Regions from separate parts of the Homo sapiens genome. Here region 1 is linked to region 2. Evidence: promoter capture Hi-C in 16 types of primary human blood cells and fetal thymus (Javierre and others, 2016). All regions are on one chromosome and are shown on one strand. Each heading gives the region's core, a stretch centred on a gene start or on the middle of the fragment in contact. The rest is flanking DNA. Distances are from core to core; before and after follow the strand shown. Region 1 holds the start of MGST2 (microsomal glutathione S-transferase 2). Region 2 holds the start of TBC1D9 (TBC1 domain family member 9).

Region 1 (5,186 bases), core at 348-2,847, 1.1 Mb after region 2:
CCTCTGTCAGCTTTGGGACATCTGTGGACCTGCAGGCCTAGGATAAAGGCGCATGCAGGTTTGGTAGCACCTGTGAGTCAGGATGCTACCAACAGTGAGCCTTAGACCTGCTAAATTAGGTTTAGCCTAAAGCTGCCTTCTGACATATTTTAAGTTCAGCCTAAAGGTTTCTCCGTACATCGTGAACTATATGCTTCCGTTTTCTGGGAGTCGCTTTCCTTTTTCTGTCCATAAATCTTCTTCTACCACGTGGCAGCCCCAGAGTCTCTCTGAACCTATTCCGGTTCCCCATGCCCAACTGTGAATCGTTCTTTGCTCAATTAAACTCAGTTAAATGTAATTTGTCTAGGGTTTTCCTTTTAACAGATCTAAGTGCTTCTTTAATTAGAAACAAATATCCTGCTCTTCTCCACAACAGATTGTGTGAATCAAACCACAAAACGTGAGTCTGAAGGTTCAAGATCTTCATACAATCTCAAAACAGACTGGCTAGGCAAGACATTGAGCATGCACGGAGGCCTGGACTGGATCCTCAGCTGTGAGGCCTTCCTGCTTCTGGCTGTTTGTGTAACCTGAGCAGTCTACGGCTTGGCCCTATTTCCTGGTACAGGCATACTTGGAAATATAAAGAAATATGCATGCTTGGTAAGAAGTCTTGCACTCTTGCACTCGGACCCCTTTCCCCAGCTGACATTGTAGGTAAGATAATATGAATTGAGCAAATGTGACTCCCATGGAGTAAAAGCCCTCTATTTAACCAGGCAGTCGAGATATTGAATAATCCTAGTGGGAAGCTGTTTTAAAATTTAGAGCTAATTACTTAATCTAAAGCTAATATTTCTGAAGGAAGTTTTTTTCAATCTGATAATCATACCACCATAGGCAGTTTATTTAAGAAAACACATTAATTAAAACATCAACGTTCAAGAAATCACAACCAGGTTTAGAAGCAGGCACGTTTCCTTTGGAACACTTGTAATTAATATTCACACCACTTCCTGCAGGTTAGCAGGCTACTAACGCTCGTTTGAACGGGCTGTGGGTCGTAATCACAGATGATGCAGAATCGCTGAGCTCTGAGGCCCCACAGCGTTCCAGTTGGGAGAACTAATCTCTGGAATGTTCTCAGTCTCTGCTTGCCCCTGGGAAGGAGGGTAGCAGGCGGCATGGGTGACCCTGAGGCGACTGTGCTCTGAGGACCCAGAGCTACCTGCAAGGGCAAGTAGGAAACAAAACACCGGACCCATCTCCCTCCCTCCCTCTCTCTCCCGCAAGCCTTGTCACACACACACACACACGCACACACGCGCACACACACGAACTTCCCATGCCTCTTACTTTGCTGACAGGCCGAGAGAATAGAGACAGCAGCCAGCAGGATCGAGTTCCCGGCCATCTTTCTCACGGAACTATTTGTAGAGCGCACGGGAAGATAAATGGCGCTTCTTGACTTTGAATGCTGACCTTCCTTATCGGGTAAACAAAGTTGGGGACCGGGTGGGGGGAAAAGGCTGATTCAAGCGGCTGAATGACCTTTGCTCTGGAACAGAAGTCAGGAAGGCAGGCAGGTCTGGGGCTGCCGGTCACAGATCTTTATGGGGCTGGGAGTTGCTTCCGGCGTTTGTTTTAAGCCTCTCCCACGGCCAGCGGGCAGGGCTGTAGCTCACTGTGGGACCAGCCCTCCAGCCGCAGTGCCAGTTACACTATCTTCTCTGCCAATGCACAGACTCTCTGGATCCCTTTCATCCCCACGCCCTTCCCTCCTAGGGCCTTGCTGAGACCTTTCTCACCTCCTGTGGAAAAAGTGAGAAGGAACTACTTACTTAATCCTGTTGACATTTTAAATGCTAATTTAAGCCAGTTCTAATGTATTCACGCTCTGAATGGCCGATTTAGGATTTGAACCCAGTCTAGCAGATTACAACTGTGCCCTATCCCCTGCACCAGGCTGCCTCTCACTGTCACCTAGAGACTCTGATAATAATCATACTTTTTTTTTTTAAGACAGGGTCTTGATCTGTCACCCAGGCTGGAGTGTGTGGTGGCACGATCATAGCTCACTGCAGCCTCCAACTCTTGGGCTTAAGTAATCCTCCTGCCTCAGCCTCCCAAGTAGCTAGAACTACAGCCACAAGTCACTGTGCCCAGCCATTTTTAAAAAAATAAACCGGCCGGGCGCGATGGCTCACACTTGTAATCCCAGCACTTTAAGAGGCCAAGGAGGGTGAATCACGAGGTCAGGAGATCAAGACTATCCTGGCTAACACAGTAAAACCCCTTCTCTACTAAAAATACAAAAAATCAGCTGGGCATGGTGGCACGAACCTGTAGTCCCAGCTACGCAGGAGGCTGAGGCAGGAGAATCTGCTCTTTAGAGATGCAGATTCTGGCCTGGAAGGATGGCTCATGCCTGTAATCCCAACAGTTTGGGAGGCTGAAATGGGCAGATGGTTTGAGCTCAGGAGTTCGAGACCAGCCTGGGTAACATGGCAAAACCCCATCTCTTAAAGAAATACAAAAATTAGCAGGGCATGGTGGCACGTGCCTGTAGTCCCAGCTACTTAGGGGGCTGAGGCAAGGGGATTGCTTGAACCCAGGAGCCTGAGACTGCAGTGAGCCAAGGTCGTTCCACTGCACTTCAGCCTGGGTGACAAAGTGAGACCCTGTCTCAAACAAATAATAAAAATAAAGATGCAGCTTCCCAAAAACCAGAGCTGGGGGCCTTTCCTCACCCCATCCTACAGCACCATTAGAGGGTATATCTTGGCTCAAGCTGCTATAACAAAGATACCATAGACTGGGTGGCTTACAATAGCAATTTATTCGTCACAGTCCTGAAGGCTGGGAAGTCCAAGATGACAGTGCTGGCCAATCAGTTCCTGGTGAGGGCCCTCTTCCTGGTTTGCAGAAGGACACCTTCATGTTGGAGACAGAGAAAGAGTAAGCTTCCTGGTCACTTCTTATAAGGGCACAGATCCCATTATGGGGGCCTATGCTCATAACCTCACCTGTAGCTAATTATCTGCCAAATGCCTGATAACATCACGTTGGGGGTTAGGGTCTCAACATATGAATTGCAGAGGGGACACAAACATTTAGTCCCTAGCAGGGAGCTCCCAGTGTCTTCTGGGGAGGGCAGTTGCCTCAGCCTCACACAGACCCTACAATTTAATAACACAACCTTGGGCCTCTCTGAGCCTCCATTTAATAAGATAGGGCTAATAAGAGCTGAAGAGAAGTTTAAATGACATAATCCTATTCTAAGGATTGAATTAGTTAATACTTATAGAGCACTTAAAACAGCACCTGGCATATACAAATGTGTTCTGTGTGTCTGCAAAATAAACACATAAAGTATCTAGACAAGTACTTAGCATATAATGTACCTAATGTTAAAAAATACTTTCAGAGGCAAAAATCATGCCTTTCATACAACATAAAATGAAAACATATCAAAATTTTTATGTAACTCATTCATGAGGGAACCAGTAAGATGTTATAACCAGTTCAAAGTAGAATTCATGGAACTACACATATACAGGAAAGAAGGAATAACAAAATTAATTTATAAATAGTTGCAAGCCAGGTCTGCTCAAAGTTTCTGTTGGTCTTCAGGCTTCCTTGGCTGTTTGCTCTTGAAATCATTGACAACTAAGATTAGATAAGAAAGTAGAGCCAAGAAGCTGGGGCAGCACCAAAACATTCTTGTATACTCAGTTTAATAGTTTTGGGCTTCAGTACATGGCAGAGATTCTAAACTGCAAACTAGCTGCCCTGAACCCATATCACCATCTACTATAATAACCTCCCAAATGACAGATCTCGAAGGAGAGGTCTACATTAGGCCTGGGGACAGGCAGAGGCTCTCAAAGTCAGAGAACGGCTCGGGAAGAGAGGAACAACAGCAGGAGGAGCTGAGCAGAGAATTGTGGCCCTGGCTGATGACTGTAACTTTTGGGTGTTGGTAACTCTTATTTTGAGAAACTCTTGGGTACACCTGTACTAGTCAACTGGTTTAAAATCTACAACTTCCGGCCGGGCGTGGTGGCTCACGCCTGTAATCCCACACTTTGGGAGGCCGAGGTGGGCGAATCACCCGAGGTTGGGAGTTCCAGACCATCCTGGCTAACACGGTGAAACCCCGTCTCTACTAAAAATACAAAAAAATTAGCCGGGCGTGTTGGCGGGCGCCTGTAGTCCCAGCTACTCGGGAGGCTGAGGCAGGAGAATGGCGTGAACCTCGAAAGCGGAGCTTGCAGTGAGCTGAGATCGTGCCACTGCACTCCAGCCTGGGTGACAGAGCGAGACTTCGTCTCAAAAAAAAAAAAAAAATGAAACTTCCCAGCTTCTGGACAAATCCTGAGGTTCCCTACTGACTTCTCCCAGCCAATCTTAAGTCAGTCCCCCAAATCCAGATTCTAAGAGATGGTTGACACAAAGTAAAAAAATAAAAAATCAATTAATCAATAAAATCTCAAGTGCTTCAAAACCCCACGTGTCTATTTAAAAAGATCTTCATTGTCGGTATATGTAGTTATTGCCTCTAGGAAAGTATAAAAGAATAGAGCATTGTATAATGAAATGTTTATCACCTTCTGCAGTGATAAAATTTCCAGGTGACCCACAGCTGAAATACTGCCATAGCATTAACAAAAACTCACAAAAATTAGAGTTTCTCTGTACGTTTTCCCTGGATTGGTTGAAGAGGAATGGCATTTTCCCTGAATGTTGTTCCCATAGATCCTTCTAGTATGTTCCATTTATTACATTTTTCTATGAAAAGGAAAATAAGAGGACAAACAGCATACTGGTAATTGCTATGGTCTGAATGTTTGTCCCCTCCAAAACTCATGTTAAAATTTAACTTCCATTATAATGGTATTAAGAGGTAGGACAATAAGGGGTGATTAGGCCATGAGAGCTCTGCTCCCATGAATGGATTAATGTTGTTATAGGAGTGGATTGTTATAAATGTGAGCTTGGCCCTCTCTTGCCCCCCCGCTTTGGGATGACATAGCACAAAGGTCCTTACCAGATGCCAGCACCTTGATATTAAACCTCCTAACCTCCAGAACTGTGAGAAATAAATTTCTTTTCTTTATAAATTACCCAGTGTGTGGTATTCTGTTATAGCAACAAAATGGAATAAGACAGTAATGATAGTAAAATGTTTTTAAAATATTTTT
Region 2 (5,104 bases), core at 81-2,580:
AGTCTCATTAGAATGGCTGGTGATTTGCTCATTCGACTAATTGAAGGAATTCAACAATTCAAGTCGGAGCTACAAAAGTCACAATTTTGAAGCCCACACAAGAAGGTTTCATTTGAATCTCTGCTCATTTGGAAAGGGAAAAGTCCCTAGGATTGCCCAGCATCCACAACAAAGCAGAGTCTGCTAAATTCCCATCATTTGGGAAGAGGAACTTTTTTTTTTTTTTTTTTTTTTTTTTTTTTGGCTGAACTATCCTCCAGATCTCCTGGGCGGGAGGAAAAAAAAATGGTCATCAGATATGTAGGCAGATGGGCTGTGATCACCACTGGAAGCTCGAAGTATTTGGGGAAACTGAAACTGTCTAGGGATAAAGCTGCCCTGGTTTGTGTGTTTCTGGTTTCACTGATTAAAAAAAAAATCCATCTACCAAGAGTGGATAAATTTTAAAATTCTGCCATGCCCAGTTTTCGAAGCCCCAAATGCGATATAGGAACAGCTGTGGTGTGAATTAGTTGGTCTAAGCTTTTGGGCCGCTTCCAACTTCTCTATTGCTCACGCCCTACAGGTCAAGGAAAGAAGTGATGTAATGCACTTAGCTAGGCCACTTTAATTACAATGGAATGGAGAGGGGGGAGGGGTCACAAGCGGTGACAAGTTTAGCGCATGACTTGCCCTGGGGATGCAGGAAACAAAAACATCGACGACCATTGGCTGCGTTGGCTTCCGACCCCGGGTCTCTAACCGAGCTCCAGGTCTGGAACCTTGAAACACTTTTCCTGGGAAAAGGGGTGGCGCTATCCCATAGAGCGTCAACCTTAAACACAAACAGCACACACGCACCCACGCAGGCTGGCGGCGTCCTCCCTGCTGGGATGGGCGTCGGGCCCAGTGCTTGGCACACGGTCCCCAGGAGCTTCCCCCGAAGGTTCCCCCGAAGCCAGCCACAGCTGCTCAGCTCGGCGCGCGGAGCCCGCGGTGGTACCGAGTCCGCACAAACCCGGACCCGCTCCAAGTGAGCCGCGTTGTCGTCATTCATTCGCAGTGTCCGGAGCGTCCTTCCAGCGGGGAGCTGGGCTTCCCTAGTGGCGCCTGCGGCCCCGACACGGCGCGTTAAGGCGCGGCGACTTCGGGAGCTCGAGCAGGTAGAGACGGGAGGGGCTCTGGAGCTCCAGTCGGCGCCGCGGGAGCAGCAGCGCCGGAGCCCAGCTTGGCCCTGACCGCGGGGCCGAATCCGCTCGGGTGGCCCTTAGCCCTGCCTGGCGCTGAGCCGGATCCCGGGACTGAGCTATACCACTTCCTCCTCCTCCCGCTCCCTTCCTCCTCCTCTTCCTCCTCCTCCCGCTCCTCCCGCCGCCGTGGGCCGGGAGCCGGGCTGCAGAGTGCCAGGCCGGGCGTCTGCGGCCGCGGGCTCTCGCGGGGCGGCGACGCCGCGGGGAGGATGCTGCTTGCCGCGCCCGCGTCCTCACCGTCCTCCCGGGCCGCCTGCTGGGGCTTTGTTGTGGCCCGGACGCCGCGGGCCACCCCCTGAAGTCGCCTGCCGCCGCCGCCGCCGCACCTAGCGGACGGGCGGGCGGGCGCGCGTGTGCCCAGGAGTGCGCGCCTGTCGCGGTGGTGGGTGCAGGACTGGACCCACGGGCCCATTGTGCGCCCGCCCGCGGCAGCCAGGACCATGTGGGTGAACCCGGAGGAGGTGTTGCTGGCCAACGCGCTGTGGATCACCGAGAGGGCCAACCCATACTTCATCCTGCAGCGGAGGAAGGGCCACGCCGGCGATGGAGGCGGCGGCGGCGGACTGGCGGGTAAGGACCGTGGCCGATCCCTGCAGGAGGGGAGCCGGGAGCGCTGCGGCGCCGCCCGCGGCCTGGGCTGCAGGCTCGGGAGACGCCGCCCGGTCCCCTGGGGCTGGGCGACCCGCCCTGCCTCGTTGTATGCGAGGCATCGAGAGTCGTGATGTTCAGGTTGGGCAGAGATGCTTCTTTTTTTGACTCTGTCAGGCTTGGGGCCCTCAGCGTACTGAGCGCTCTTTAAGTGGATATGTTGAGGAGAATGGGAAAGAGTGAGTCTGGGGCGGAGGGAATGTATTATCCCCTATATATTGAATGCATCATTCCCTTCCCCTCCCCCCCTTAAAAATATTGTTTTCCAAATGGAAAAGAGGGATGGAAGAAGGTTAATTTTTGCTCCACTTTCTTTACTGGCAACAGCAGGATCAGGTATAAAATGCTCTTTTGTTTCCAGGGAAGCGATAAGTAAGGAACTGATGTGGTCATTTCCTATATGAGTTATGACCGAAGAGAATGAATACGGAAACAGGAATTTTTTTGTTTCACCTAATTAGACATAAAGCAAAGCAAATTGTCTGGTTCTAGTTGTAAAAATAATTGGCTGTATAACTGCATTTTAACTATTTTTGCTCAATCACTTCTTCCCTAAACCCCCTCCCTTCAAGGTATTATTGTAATTGTTGCTGAAGCCATGTCATATCATTCAGGATAATAAGATCAGTCAGACCCATATCCAAAGTAGTGCCATATTAGAAATAATCTCGAACTCATACCATACTAGAGAAATTGGACCTTCTCCATCTCTGTGTTATTTAGAATGAACAGAACTGGAATACTTTTTACAGTGAAAAAGTTAGCAGAAGAAATAGTAGAGGTTTCACTAGAAAGGAGACTGCAAAAAAGAGATGAACTTTGACCCTCCTCAGAGTTGAGCTTATATCAACCTCATATATCACCTGGAGTTTGCACAATAGGTAAATTGTTGCTTTCAAATGCTGTGCTATGAAATAAAGATTCTTGATATATGTATTTACTTATGATTATATTTATAAACTAATTTTCTTAAGATTAAAATTCAGGTGTCATGTGGTACAATGTATACTGGTATGTTTGAAGGATCTTGATTCTACCAGAAAAGATAAATCTGCAGAGCTCCAGACCCCATTCTGGAAATACTTACTAGTGATCTGATACCAGGATTTTCCAGGTCATTTTGTAGAAGTTATCTAACTCTAAATGTTAATATGTAATTTACATATCTAATATTGGAATCAGCCCACATTGTCCTTTTTTTTTTTTTTTTTTTTTTTTTTTTTGAGACAGAGTCCTGCTTTGTCGCCCAGGCTGGAGTGCAGTGGCGTGATCTCGGCTCACTGCAACCTCCTTCTCCTGGGTTCAAGTGATTCTCCTGCCTCAGCCTCCTGAGTAGCTGGGACTACAGGCATGCACCAACCCGCCCGGCTAATTTTTTTTGTATTTTTAATAGATGGGGTTTCACCATGTTGGCCAGGCTGGTCTTGAACTCCTGATCTCAAATAATCCGCCCACTTTGGCCTCCCGAAGTGCTGGGATTAAAGGCGTGAGCCACCTCACCCGGCCCATGTAGTCCTTTAAGCCTAGGACAACAACACAGAGTAGATAATTTATTGTAGTAAAAAGAGAACATTTCCTTCTGCAATTAACCCTCCTACACCTTGTAAGCATTAAGTATTCATTTACCTGTGTCATTTGTAATAGGATGTGAAAAATTCAGGGATTCAGAGCCTTCTTTTTCTGCTTAACATTTGTATTGTGTTCCTACTGGTTCTTAGAGCTATAACTGACTACGGTCCACTTGAAATCTCATCTTGTCATCAATGACTTCTTTCACTTAGGTAAAATTACATCTTGTAAATTGAGAAATCACAGTGATTGCACTTATTAATGGAATAATTGAAATCATTGTCATGAGTAAAAGTATTTATGACAACAAAGGCTATTTTCAAGCAAGAGAGGTAAAATGTTTGGTCTAATACCTTGGTGCCATGTCAAATGTAGCAGGAACATTTTAGAAATGTTACACAATGTGTAGTATATTCTGATTCTAATGTAAGTTCATTCATTCACTAACTCACTAAATCATTTAACAAATATTTGTTGGCAACTTCTAGAAGTGCTAATGTTGTGAAGCTCAAGCCTAGTAGAAGACAGGTATTGATGAAATAATCACATAAATTAAAGTAAAATTGCCACTCTACAGAGTCCCAGCAGAAAACAGAATCCAAATGAAGAGAGATGAGTGAAAAGACAACTTCGAAAAATAGAGGCATGGTTATTTGAACTGGTGTAAGGCAAACCAGAGGCAGGACTCTCAGGAGTCCGTGAGAGCTGGAGCCAGGGAAGAGGAACTTGAGCCTGGAGAGAAGCAGCTACTTGTAAAAACATAGACAATAGCAGAAAGGGAGTGGGGAGTACATGCCCTGACTTCTCTCTTCTCCCACCCTCCCAGCTTCTGCCACTGCCTCCCATCCCTGGAACCCAATAGAAGCCAGCTAAGGAACTGGGCATGGTGGTGTATGCCTGTAGTCCCAGCTGCTGGGGAGGCTGAGGCTGGAGGATGGTTTGAGCCTAGGCATTCAAATCCGGACTGGGCAACATGGTGAGACCTTATCGCTAGAAAAGGAAAAAAAAAAAAGAATCTAGCTGGAAAGAGTCCTGGTAATGTAGTTTCTTGGGATCAGCCTCCCAGGAATGGATGGGGGCAAACTGAGAATGATCAGAACAAATATCATAAGAAGAGGAACATGATGTTGGTTAGTCCCAGTTAAGTGATGGGGTCTTGGAGGTGGAGGCAAAGGAAAGATTCCTTGAGGAAGTGACGCTTGAGCTTAGAACTGAAGAAAGAAAAAGATCTGCCTGTGAGGAGAGGAGGGAAGAGTAAGTGTTAGATATCAGCTGTTGGAGATTTTCTGGAAGATCTCAGGACCTTTACATAATATGCATTATCTGGATCAGTGTACATGTGTACACCCAGCAAATAGATGACAGATGAGTAGGGAAACTTGCCCAGTGTGAACTGGCCAGAAGTGGTCTCAAAGTGTGGTCATCAGGGAGCTTGGAAAGATTAGCACAGAAAGCTATAAAAAACAGTGGGTCAAAGTTGAGGACACTTAACATTTTTTAAAAATTAAGATATTCTAGGTTCCTGATTCCAAGCAATATGTATAGGCATTGGTGCAATGAAGTCTTCCATTGTGGATGCATTTGATTGATTTATTTAACCCCCTTTGACTGAGATTTCATACATATACATAAAATTACAGAAATCAGATGCAAAGTGC

Evidence for each region. The method cuts DNA at HindIII sites, captures the fragments that hold promoters and counts their contacts. A CHiCAGO score of 5 or more calls a contact.
Region 1: a contact is called between the fragment with the promoter of MGST2 here and the fragment with the promoter of TBC1D9 in region 2, in 5 of 17 cell types (M0 macrophages, M2 macrophages, monocytes and 2 more). The highest score is 21.8, in M0 macrophages.

What each region holds. Positions count from the first base shown.
Region 1 is chr4:139,662,230-139,667,415 of GRCh38, reverse strand. MGST2 (microsomal glutathione S-transferase 2) reads right to left here and starts at 1,597. Exons shown (of 5, transcript NM_002413.5): 1 at 1,339-1,597. The coding sequence starts at 1,396. RefSeq lists enhancers at 1,373-1,542, 839-2,038. The HindIII fragment of the contact is 3,780 bases long and covers 1-2,947 here.
Region 2 is chr4:140,752,611-140,757,714 of GRCh38, reverse strand. TBC1D9 (TBC1 domain family member 9) reads left to right here and starts at 1,330. Exons shown (of 21, transcript NM_015130.3): 1 at 1,330-1,799. The coding sequence starts at 1,670. RefSeq lists enhancers at 808-857, 348-989, 990-1,632 and a silencer at 1,288-1,977. The HindIII fragment of the contact is 6,603 bases long and covers 525-5,104 here.